Regions from separate parts of the Homo sapiens genome. Here all the other regions are linked to region 1. The links are contacts of gene promoters, found by promoter capture Hi-C in blood cells and fetal thymus (Javierre and others, 2016). All regions are on one chromosome and are shown on one strand. Each heading gives the region's core, a stretch centred on a gene start or on the middle of the fragment in contact. The rest is flanking DNA. Distances are from core to core; before and after follow the strand shown. Region 1 holds the start of HMGCS2 (3-hydroxy-3-methylglutaryl-CoA synthase 2). Region 2 has its middle 42 kb from the start of HSD3B1. Region 3 overlaps NOTCH2 (notch receptor 2).

What was found. Contacts are between HindIII fragments. The CHiCAGO score rates a contact against its expected background, and 5 or more counts as called.
Region 2: a contact is called between a fragment that was not itself captured here and the fragment with the promoter of HMGCS2 in region 1, in 2 of 17 cell types (M1 macrophages and M0 macrophages). The highest score is 6.1, in M1 macrophages.
Region 3: a fragment that was not itself captured here is called in contact with the fragment with the promoter of HMGCS2 in region 1 in 1 of 17 cell types (M0 macrophages); the score reaches 5.9 in M0 macrophages.

Annotation. Positions count from the first base shown.
Region 1 is chr1:119,767,454-119,770,437 of GRCh38, reverse strand. HMGCS2 (3-hydroxy-3-methylglutaryl-CoA synthase 2) reads left to right here and starts at 1,533. Exons shown (of 10, transcript NM_005518.4): 1 at 1,533-1,697. The coding sequence starts at 1,594. RefSeq lists a silencer at 1,658-1,952. The HindIII fragment of the contact is 4,165 bases long and covers 1-2,984 here.
Region 2 is chr1:119,547,248-119,550,231 of GRCh38, reverse strand. No RefSeq gene overlaps it. Among named protein-coding and RNA genes, the nearest start is that of HSD3B1, 42 kb to the right of the region's middle. RefSeq lists an enhancer at 252-546. The HindIII fragment of the contact is 5,511 bases long and covers 1-2,984 here.
Region 3 is chr1:119,935,806-119,938,789 of GRCh38, reverse strand. It overlaps NOTCH2 (notch receptor 2), which reads left to right. Exons shown (of 34, transcript NM_024408.4): 20 at 780-933; 21 at 1,324-1,508. Among named protein-coding and RNA genes, the nearest start is that of ADAM30, 41 kb to the right of the region's middle. RefSeq lists an enhancer at 1,825-2,550. The HindIII fragment of the contact is 1,189 bases long and covers 941-2,129 here.

The sequences.
Region 1 (2,984 bases), core at 284-2,783:
ATCTTATGTGGAGATTGACATCTCACATCCATTGAGATGACTGATGGTGGAGAGGAAAGTAGTGATCTATGTGCTTAAATTTTATCAATGAGGGACAGTGGAACATGACAGTTAGTTGACTGCAAGAATAAGGGCACTGGGTGGCACAGACTGTAGCATGTGCTTTAAGACAGCAGGGGTTTTGAGAGGAGGAAGAGGAGAAATACCCTGGAAGAGATAGTATGAAGCAAAGAGGACACAGGCCTTGTTGTAAGCATTTAAAGTGCATTGGATTGACAAGAAGCAACAGGTATTTCAGAGAAGAGATTGGAAATGAAGAATTTCACTGACGACAGAACTTTGCAAAAGGCTGAGTGTAAGAGCAGGAGGTGACACAGCAAGGTAGGAGATTGAGTTAGAACACCAACACACCAAGATATATGGAGATAAGAATTTAAAGATAAGATGGAAGACCTAGATATCCTGGACTGCTGGGGGCACCTAGACATTCTCTGTCTGTAGGAACATGAAGTCAACTATATCCTCCTAAAGCAGGAACCACTCCAGCTCTTTTCTGTGTTCCCTACACACTCATATTAGACAGGGGGTTGGTGATGGGGATGACTGAATGAACTAAGGAGTGAATGCATGACTCACAAAAGGTAGAGGAAGATTGGTGCTGTGGGAGGAGTGGAGGGAGACATTCATTTGGAAAATCAGATGGCAGGAGCCTTTTTATTGAGTAGTAGAAGAGCAAAGCAGAAGGACCAGAATCTGGAGTCAAAAGACATGGTTGAGTTCTCATTCTGCAACTTCCTAGCTGCAGGTCTTTGGGAAAATGACTCCTTTATACATAACTCTGACCTCATCTATAAAGTAAACCTTTCCTCCTTAGGAGATTGAGCTTCAAACTGTCACCTCTTTGAGGCTCCTGTCCCTTTACTACAACACTAATTTCATCCCACTTGGAAATTGTGTAGAGCTGTACAAGTAAAAGGGTGGACAATAAACAGGAGAAATATAGTAGGTTCCACATACTCTAACGCCCAGCCCTTGGCCTATGTGCCAACACTCACTCCCAACTCCTTGAAAAGCTACTATTAAAAGAGTTTCCCTTTGGTTTAGAAAGATGTTTCTTATAATGCATAGCACATTAAAATAATAACAACTAACACCACAGAGAGGAGTGTGGAACACCCAGTGAGAGTAATACAGATAAGGAGCCAGGGTCTAAAACAAGACACATAGGGTTACCTTGGGATGTGATACAACAAGGAACATCATAACCTCCTGCTTAGGTAGCTGGGCAGAATCAAGGCTGCCACAGAGCCTGATGGAGTAGGAGGAACAATGCCCAGCCATTCCCACACATGCTCAGGAGCAGGGCAGCTATGTACATGTTGGAGAGATGCTGTTTGTCTTTGACTCGCCCGTGTTCTGAGTGAGCCCTTTGACCCAGTTTTAGAAGCAGACTGAGCCACGGTGAGCAGAGGCGGGGCTTAGGGAGGCAGGAGTCTTGGGGCTTTATAAAGTCCTGCCGGGCACCACTGGGCATCTCTTTCAAGGTTTCTGCTGGGTTTCTGAACTGCTGGGTTTCTGCTTGCTCCTCTGGAGATGCAGCGTCTGTTGACTCCAGTGAAGCGCATTCTGCAACTGACAAGAGCGGTGCAGGAAACCTCCCTCACACCTGCTCGCCTGCTCCCAGTAGCCCACCAAAGGTGAGTCACTTTCTGAGAAGCACCTTGTAACTAGTAAAAGATAGTTTTTCCCTGCTATTGGGGAAAACTCACTAGAATCCCACTCAAAATTTGGCAAGGCTTGTGCACAGCAGCCTTAGACAAGCAAGTTAACTTTAAAGGGTCTCAGTTACCTCATCTCTAAACAGACAATCCCTTTCAGCTGTAGAGTGAGAAGAGCCCAAACCTCTGACACATGCTGTGTTTGTGAGCAATGGCAACTTTTACTCTGCCAGCTGCATGAAGCAGTAGAAATATCAGTACCAGGCCACAGCTTTCCTCTCTACACCACCATTCCCACCTTCACCCCTAGCCTCTGCCTAGAACCACAGGACCTTGTGCCAACTGCAGTGTTAGTAAAACCAGTGACTTTATATCACTGCAGCAGAATCAGAAATGGACTGAGGATGAGAAGCTGTGTTTGCCTTGTGTTCCAATTTTATGAAAAGGGGAAATGTGTGTTTATGTGTGTATGTGTACATGCTCTTTGCAAGAAGAACATGCACACTCCTTTTCTTTGTAAATAGTCCCTGAACATGGCTCAAGTGCTTATGTTTTCCATTGTCAGCGATGATGGTAACACAGCTATCGTTAGTGCCTCAGGCTCCCAGCCACCTATGTGTTTCTGTCTAATCCCCAAACCATCCACTACACATTGGGACTAGTTCTTTATTTCCTTACATTTTTACTCTATATTCTATGACTACTAAATATTTAGAAAAATGATTTTGACCTAGTGTCTTTCCTTGCCAAATACCCAAGGAACCTGGGTGTATAGATGTGCATGGTAGAGGCAAATGCACATAGCTTTCTTATATTTTTCATTATGCTACCATCATCTCACTCTCCCCATGCACTGCCAAACCCTGCATGTGGGTTAAATGTCCCAGCTCAGGATTTAACCTGTTTCTATATTTGTGAAGAAGAGATTGATGTGGGTTTCTTGTTTTAATAGCAATAGTTGGCCATCAGCCAAAAGACATACATCAATCCTCCCCAACATTCTGACTCCCTTGGTTCAAACTCTTGGAATCATTCCCATTTCCCTTCTGGTATATTCACAGTTAATCCCATTATGCATGGCTTGAACTAATATTGCTTTTCATGAGTCACCTTTTCTCTATATGTCTAATCGCCTTTAATCCAACCCACATTGGCTCTAACTCCAACCTAAAAGAGACTTTCATCTCAGCATCTGCTTTGCTGTCTTCAAAATTCGGTAAGACTTGTGCCCTCCACTTACTGTATTTCTCACATATTGTCTCCCTG
Region 2 (2,984 bases), core at 209-2,708, 220 kb after region 1:
AGAGATGACATGGTGAGTTACTGTCCTCAAGACACGGCAGTGTAGGGGTGCGGAACAGGATATATAAATGAAAAATCAGTGAGAGTGCAACTCGATATGCACAAGACACAGAGGCTGTAAAATGAGACATATTGGATAGTAAATAAGGAGCTGGGAAGGATGTGCTGGCAGGAGAGCTGGGCACCCTTTAAGCGGAAGGAACACCATGCACCGGCCTGGGTGGATATAAAAGCATGCTGCATGCAGGAAGCGCTGAGTTTGGAAAATTGTTGAGGCACAAAGTAGGAGAATCTGGGGACAGGGCAGGGATTGGTGAGAATTAGTCTGGAGTGTCAGGCAGGGCCCAGGGCTTCAGAGGCCCTCTATGTTCTGCTAAGGCTCTCAGGCTCGTCCTGACAGTCCTGGGGCTCCCCCTATTGGTTGGTTTTAAGGAAGGGAGTGACATGGTGAGACTAGTTTGGAGAGAACTCTGGCAACACTGCTGAGGATAGGTTTCATGGGTGATTCTCCAAGACAAGGAGGCCTGTTGGGGGTACGAGTAGGAATGATGTTACCAGGGAGGAAGACGACATATTCAAGAGGTGTTGTGGAGGTAAAGTTCGTAGCACTGAATGATAGGTGGGCGGAGTGGGGGGCTGCCATCCAGGTTTCTGGCTTGAGAAAGTGTGTGCTTGGGAATTCTGTGCCCACACCCAGTCCTGTCTAAACTAGCGGCCATTCTGTCTCAGGCCTGCCGCAGTTGCCCCTGTAGTCTGTTTTGTTACCAACACATAAATCAGGCCTTCATTTCTTACCTAAATTCTTCAAGTATCCTCTTCATCTCTTTCAGTCCATCCTACAACATGCTGCCAAGGTAATCTTCCAGGGACAGCTGAACAATGCCCATTGCAGAGTGAATGATGTCCCAGCTTTTAGCATCACCATCAATATTCATTGCTAAAGGAGACATTCGTTTCCTGTAGAGTCCAATTTTTGAGAGAAGATGAGCCATGTTATATGTGAAGTAATTGAATGTCAAGTCTTCTTTAAGGGGGTGTGGGGCACAGAATTCCTACTCTGAGGGCAATGAAGGAAGCAGGCACGGTGTCTCCAGGGATGACCCCAGGTGATCCTGCCTGTGCCCATCATTTTTTTCAGGTGTATCTTCCATGTCTCCCCTGGCCTTGGGCTTTCTGGTCTGGTCTCATTGCTGCTTAAAATGGACCCCTTTCTCACCTGGGTCTTTGCAGACTGCATTGCCTCTGCCTGGAATAATTTCACTCACATTCCTGTCTGTTGAAATCCTACCCATCTTTTGATATCCAGCCAAAATGCAAGGACCCCATGAGTCCCCTGTGGGAATGGATCCTTCAGAAGCATTTTCCTTTCTATGGCACTCTGCATATTTACTATGCACAGCACCTAACATGTCTTGTATTTTATCTCCCCCACTGGACCACTAGATTGGGAGCAGAAATGGAAAATCAGAGCTCTTAATCCTGGGTCCAGCCTGTGAATGTGTTTTGTTAGTTTGCATGTTTTTTCCCCACCAAATTTAATTTATTAAAAAATTATAACCTATGTTAAATATACAGAAAAGGTGACAATACGATATAATAATGTATATTTGGGACTTTTCACCAAGAATGAACAGATTTGCTGCTGACATCTCACCACCTACTTTTTAAGAAATAAAATATTACACATACATTTTGAATACTAGCCCACGCATTCCTCTCTTGGAGCAGGTCTTTGAGCTGTTTTTTAAAATTTAGAGTTAGTTGCTAATATTTAGAAATCAAGAGATTTCACATAAAAGTTGGCCTCTGGCTACTTTCCTGCCAGTTCTCAGCAGGCCATCACGGGTTCCCAGCCCCATCCTGGCCCTCAGAGCCTGGCTCTCAGGTGGTGGAAACTTTTGTCAAGTACCTGAGCTCCTCATCTGCCCTCCATACATGCTTCCCAGCAGACGGGAGGCCTCCTTATGCCCCTCGTCTTCCTCTGCACCACTGCCCATGCTGTGCCCCCTGTCTGGACCCAGGAATTCAAGGCCTCATTTAAGTCCCGCTGGTTCCTGTGGCTTTTCCCAGTGACCAGCTCAGCTCCATTGTCTGTATTCATATACACCTAGCCCTTAAGCCGGTGGCTGAGAACTTACCTGTGTTTTCATTCATTCCCTTGCCAGGTACCCTGCAGAGCCACCTAGATGGAGGAAAGGGACCCAAAAATCCCCACTGGGTCAGGCTTCCTTGCTCTTCCCTCCGAGACTTGCTGCCTCCGTGTGGTGCATGGCGTGAGGTTCAGCGAGGCTTGCTTGGTGCAGGAGCTCTGCCTGCCTGGCACCCACAGTTGTAAGAAGGGATGGCACATTTTGTTGGCCACAACACTCCGAGGCCTTTGTGCTTGTCCAGTTGAGACTGCTGGCCCATCCAATTTCTTCCTCTCTTTCTGTGATCACCCCTCACTGCCCATTGGAGGTATAATCTTTCCCATCACTTCTCTGTGAACATTGCCCTCATTGGTCAATAGGAGTGGGGTTTCACTAGGCTGAAAAACCAGGGGGAAAGGCTCTTGTCCCAGATTCCACCACCCTCCTATCCTTCCCATGCTATTTGTCATAAACATATGGATGGTGGGCATGCCTTACAAGAGCTGGAGAGGTGCTGGCTCTTGCATTTTGTTCAGTGGATGGGGCAAGAGGGGTGTTCCATTTTTCACTTTACCCCACTGCCTAGGGCCATTCCACCCTGATGCTGGTGCTGATCACCTGTCCCTTGGTGCTTTGAGGTTAATCATCTGTAAATTTTCTGTGTAAGAAAGAAGCCATCTTGATGTTGAGTGTGACCCTCATCATGGCTGTGATATACCCAGGTCCAGAGGGAGACAGCTTCCCTTCCCACACTCTGGACCCACAGCAACCTCCTCACCCGCTTCAGTTCAACTCTGTCCCTAATGCCCCTGAAAGTGTTTCTTTTGACCGTTGCTTCTTTGGTTGATTAATGACT
Region 3 (2,984 bases), core at 286-2,785, 170 kb before region 1:
AGAATGGCGTGAACCTGGGAAGCAGAGCTTGCAGTTAGCGGAGATAGCGCCACTGCACTCCAGCCTGGGCAACAGAGTGAGACTCCGTCTCAAAAAAAAAAAAGAATGAATATACCAATTATTATAAAATGAAAACCCATAAAGCCTATGATAATCATATGAGTGCACAACAATAAACAATGTGGTACAAAACCACCCAGCAAGCCTGCCATATTGGTTAGTGTTGCTTTCTGAGCTGTGTGGTGGTAAGAGGTGCTGACGGTTTTGCTTTGCAAACATTTATTCCTTGACTTGACCTGCCACCACTAGGACTGCTATTACTCATGGATTCACCAAAAATTGGATAAATAATTATCTTGTTTTTATTAATATTTCTTAAATGAATGTATAGCTTGTTTATTTTAATGTTTAATATCAGAAGTGGGTGTTAATTTGAAGTTTAGTGATTTTTTTTTTAACCAGAAATAAGTAGAGGAACTTAACTCTTTTTTATATCAATTAGACTGTGGTAAAATTGGTTTCGTTATATATCGTTGTCCTTAAAGTCACAGTTTCCAAGAACCTAATGATGACATTAAGTGAAGACTTAACGGTACGTAAAAATGGTTAGGTGTACCTCGGAACACTGAATCTAGTTTAAGGGCTCTTTTACTAGATGAAGGCTCTTTTTCTTTTTAATCAGTTTGCTTTTCTTTGATTTCTTGTAACACAATATAACTTCTTTTCTTCATTTCTAGTATTTGAATTTTGATGTATGTACACCCCTGCCTCTGTTTCAGACCCTGGTGAATCTCTGCAGTCGGTCTCCATGTAAAAACAAAGGTACTTGCGTTCAGAAAAAAGCAGAGTCCCAGTGCCTATGTCCATCTGGATGGGCTGGTGCCTATTGTGACGTGCCCAATGTCTCTTGTGACATAGCAGCCTCCAGGAGAGGTAAGCTTTGCTCCCTTGGGCTCAGGTCATTCACTGCAGTATTGACTGTCCAGTGGCATTTAGAGAAGGTATCATTTTTTTGTGGAATAAGAGGGAAGGGCAGATAGTAGTGGGTGGGCAGGGCTCTGGGGAAAGGGCTCAAGACAGAAGGTGTAAGGGTAGAGGAATAGGTTCAGAGATTCGGAGAAGAATGTATTTGAAATGAAACTAAGGTATATTCCACTTTCAGGGTTTATTTTTAATATGCATCTGGTACTGAGGGTTGTGAAGAACTGGCTAAGAATAAGATTGGATGTGTCAGCCAGTTTAGATTTACTTGCTCATTGGTTGATTTGAACCCCATGTGTCACATGTTCTTCTATGACATTTCTCCCTCACTGGGTTTCCCAGGTGTGCTTGTTGAACACTTGTGCCAGCACTCAGGTGTCTGCATCAATGCTGGCAACACGCATTACTGTCAGTGCCCCCTGGGCTATACTGGGAGCTACTGTGAGGAGCAACTCGATGAGTGTGCGTCCAACCCCTGCCAGCACGGGGCAACATGCAGTGACTTCATTGGTGGATACAGATGCGAGGTGAGGACACTGAGCAAGCAGAGGTCATGGACCTCCCAGGAGATTGTACAACTGTTTGAGCACTGATATATTGAATTTAGCTGCTTGTATCTTATATTGATAGTTTATAGATTTTTACCAATCCCCGTCATAATGTTTACCACTGTTTCTTTCAGCCTCTCTGTGCAATAAGTTAACAGGTCCCTAGTATGATATTTTTATAGGCGTCTGGAACCATCCCAGCTCCTTAGGCTTGCTTTTAGGATTCAGAGCCAAGAGTCACTACCAGAGTGCATTTTACAGGCCCACCCAACATAGCAGTCCACACTTCCCTGAATAGCAGCTGAGATAGGAAAAACTGCTTTGTGGAGTGTCCCTTTGGCCCCTGTCACCTTTGTATTTAGTCATTAATCAGTCAACTAGCAATTTTCTCTCAAAAAAAAAAAATGTTGCTCATCCTGTTCCCCATAGCATCATGCTAAACGTTACATGTATATATTTGAGGAAGTATGTGTCTTCAAGGTACATGTCACTATTTTAATGTCTGGGCTGATAATGGTTAGAGCAAGCAAGATATTAGCAAAATGCCTGAGACATTAATTTGATACCAATTCAAACCATCAAGCAACACTGAGAAAAGCTTTGCTTCTCTATTGTTATATAAATGAGCCAACGATAGCTTCTGTATTTTGGCCCCTAGGTTGTTTATTTCTTCACAGCAGGCTGGGGCTGGGTCTCATTAGCTCAAAAGCCTACCAGTGCCAAACCCAAATTTTGACACATCTAGTTGTTTTAAACATAGCCCCCAAATAAGCAGATTTTTAGCTATTTAGAGCTTGCCTGCTTTGCATAGCCTGTAAAACTGCAGCCAAAATCTGCTAGCCATAGTATAAGTAGGACAAGATATACCCTGGGGCCATACAGACCCCAGGCTGATGCTGGCCTTTAGAGCTCTCTGACCCAGAGATTCCTGCCACTGGCTGTTGAGTGACATCACCTAGACTCCTTCTCTGATCCTTCTTTCCCAGAGTTTACTTGCTGTCTTCCCCTTACTCACCTACCCCTCTGGAAGGTCTCATGCTATTTGGGACTTCTCCCAGGTGCAAACCTGTCAAAGTGTCCAAATAAAGCCACCTCACAGCCATATCTTTTTTCTTGGTCAGCCCTGAAATCCTTCCAACCCCTACAGCCACCACAGCCAGCCAGCCAGCCCCACCTCCCTCTACCCCTAAGCCTATCTCAACCAGTTTCTCACACATAGATCCAATTTCCTAAACCTGGAGATCAATAATTGCATGTCTGTACTACCATCCACATATGCCTTTTGACCGAGTCATAGGGTCCTCATCACATACGGAGGAATGTGTATTTTAAAGATGAGGAAACCTGTACCCAGGAGGAACAAAAGGTTTGCACACAAGTCAAATCTGAAACATCCTTCATTGTATTCAGTCCTTGCCTTCCCTTTAAAGTGCCTTTTTCAACTGAAAGAGGAGT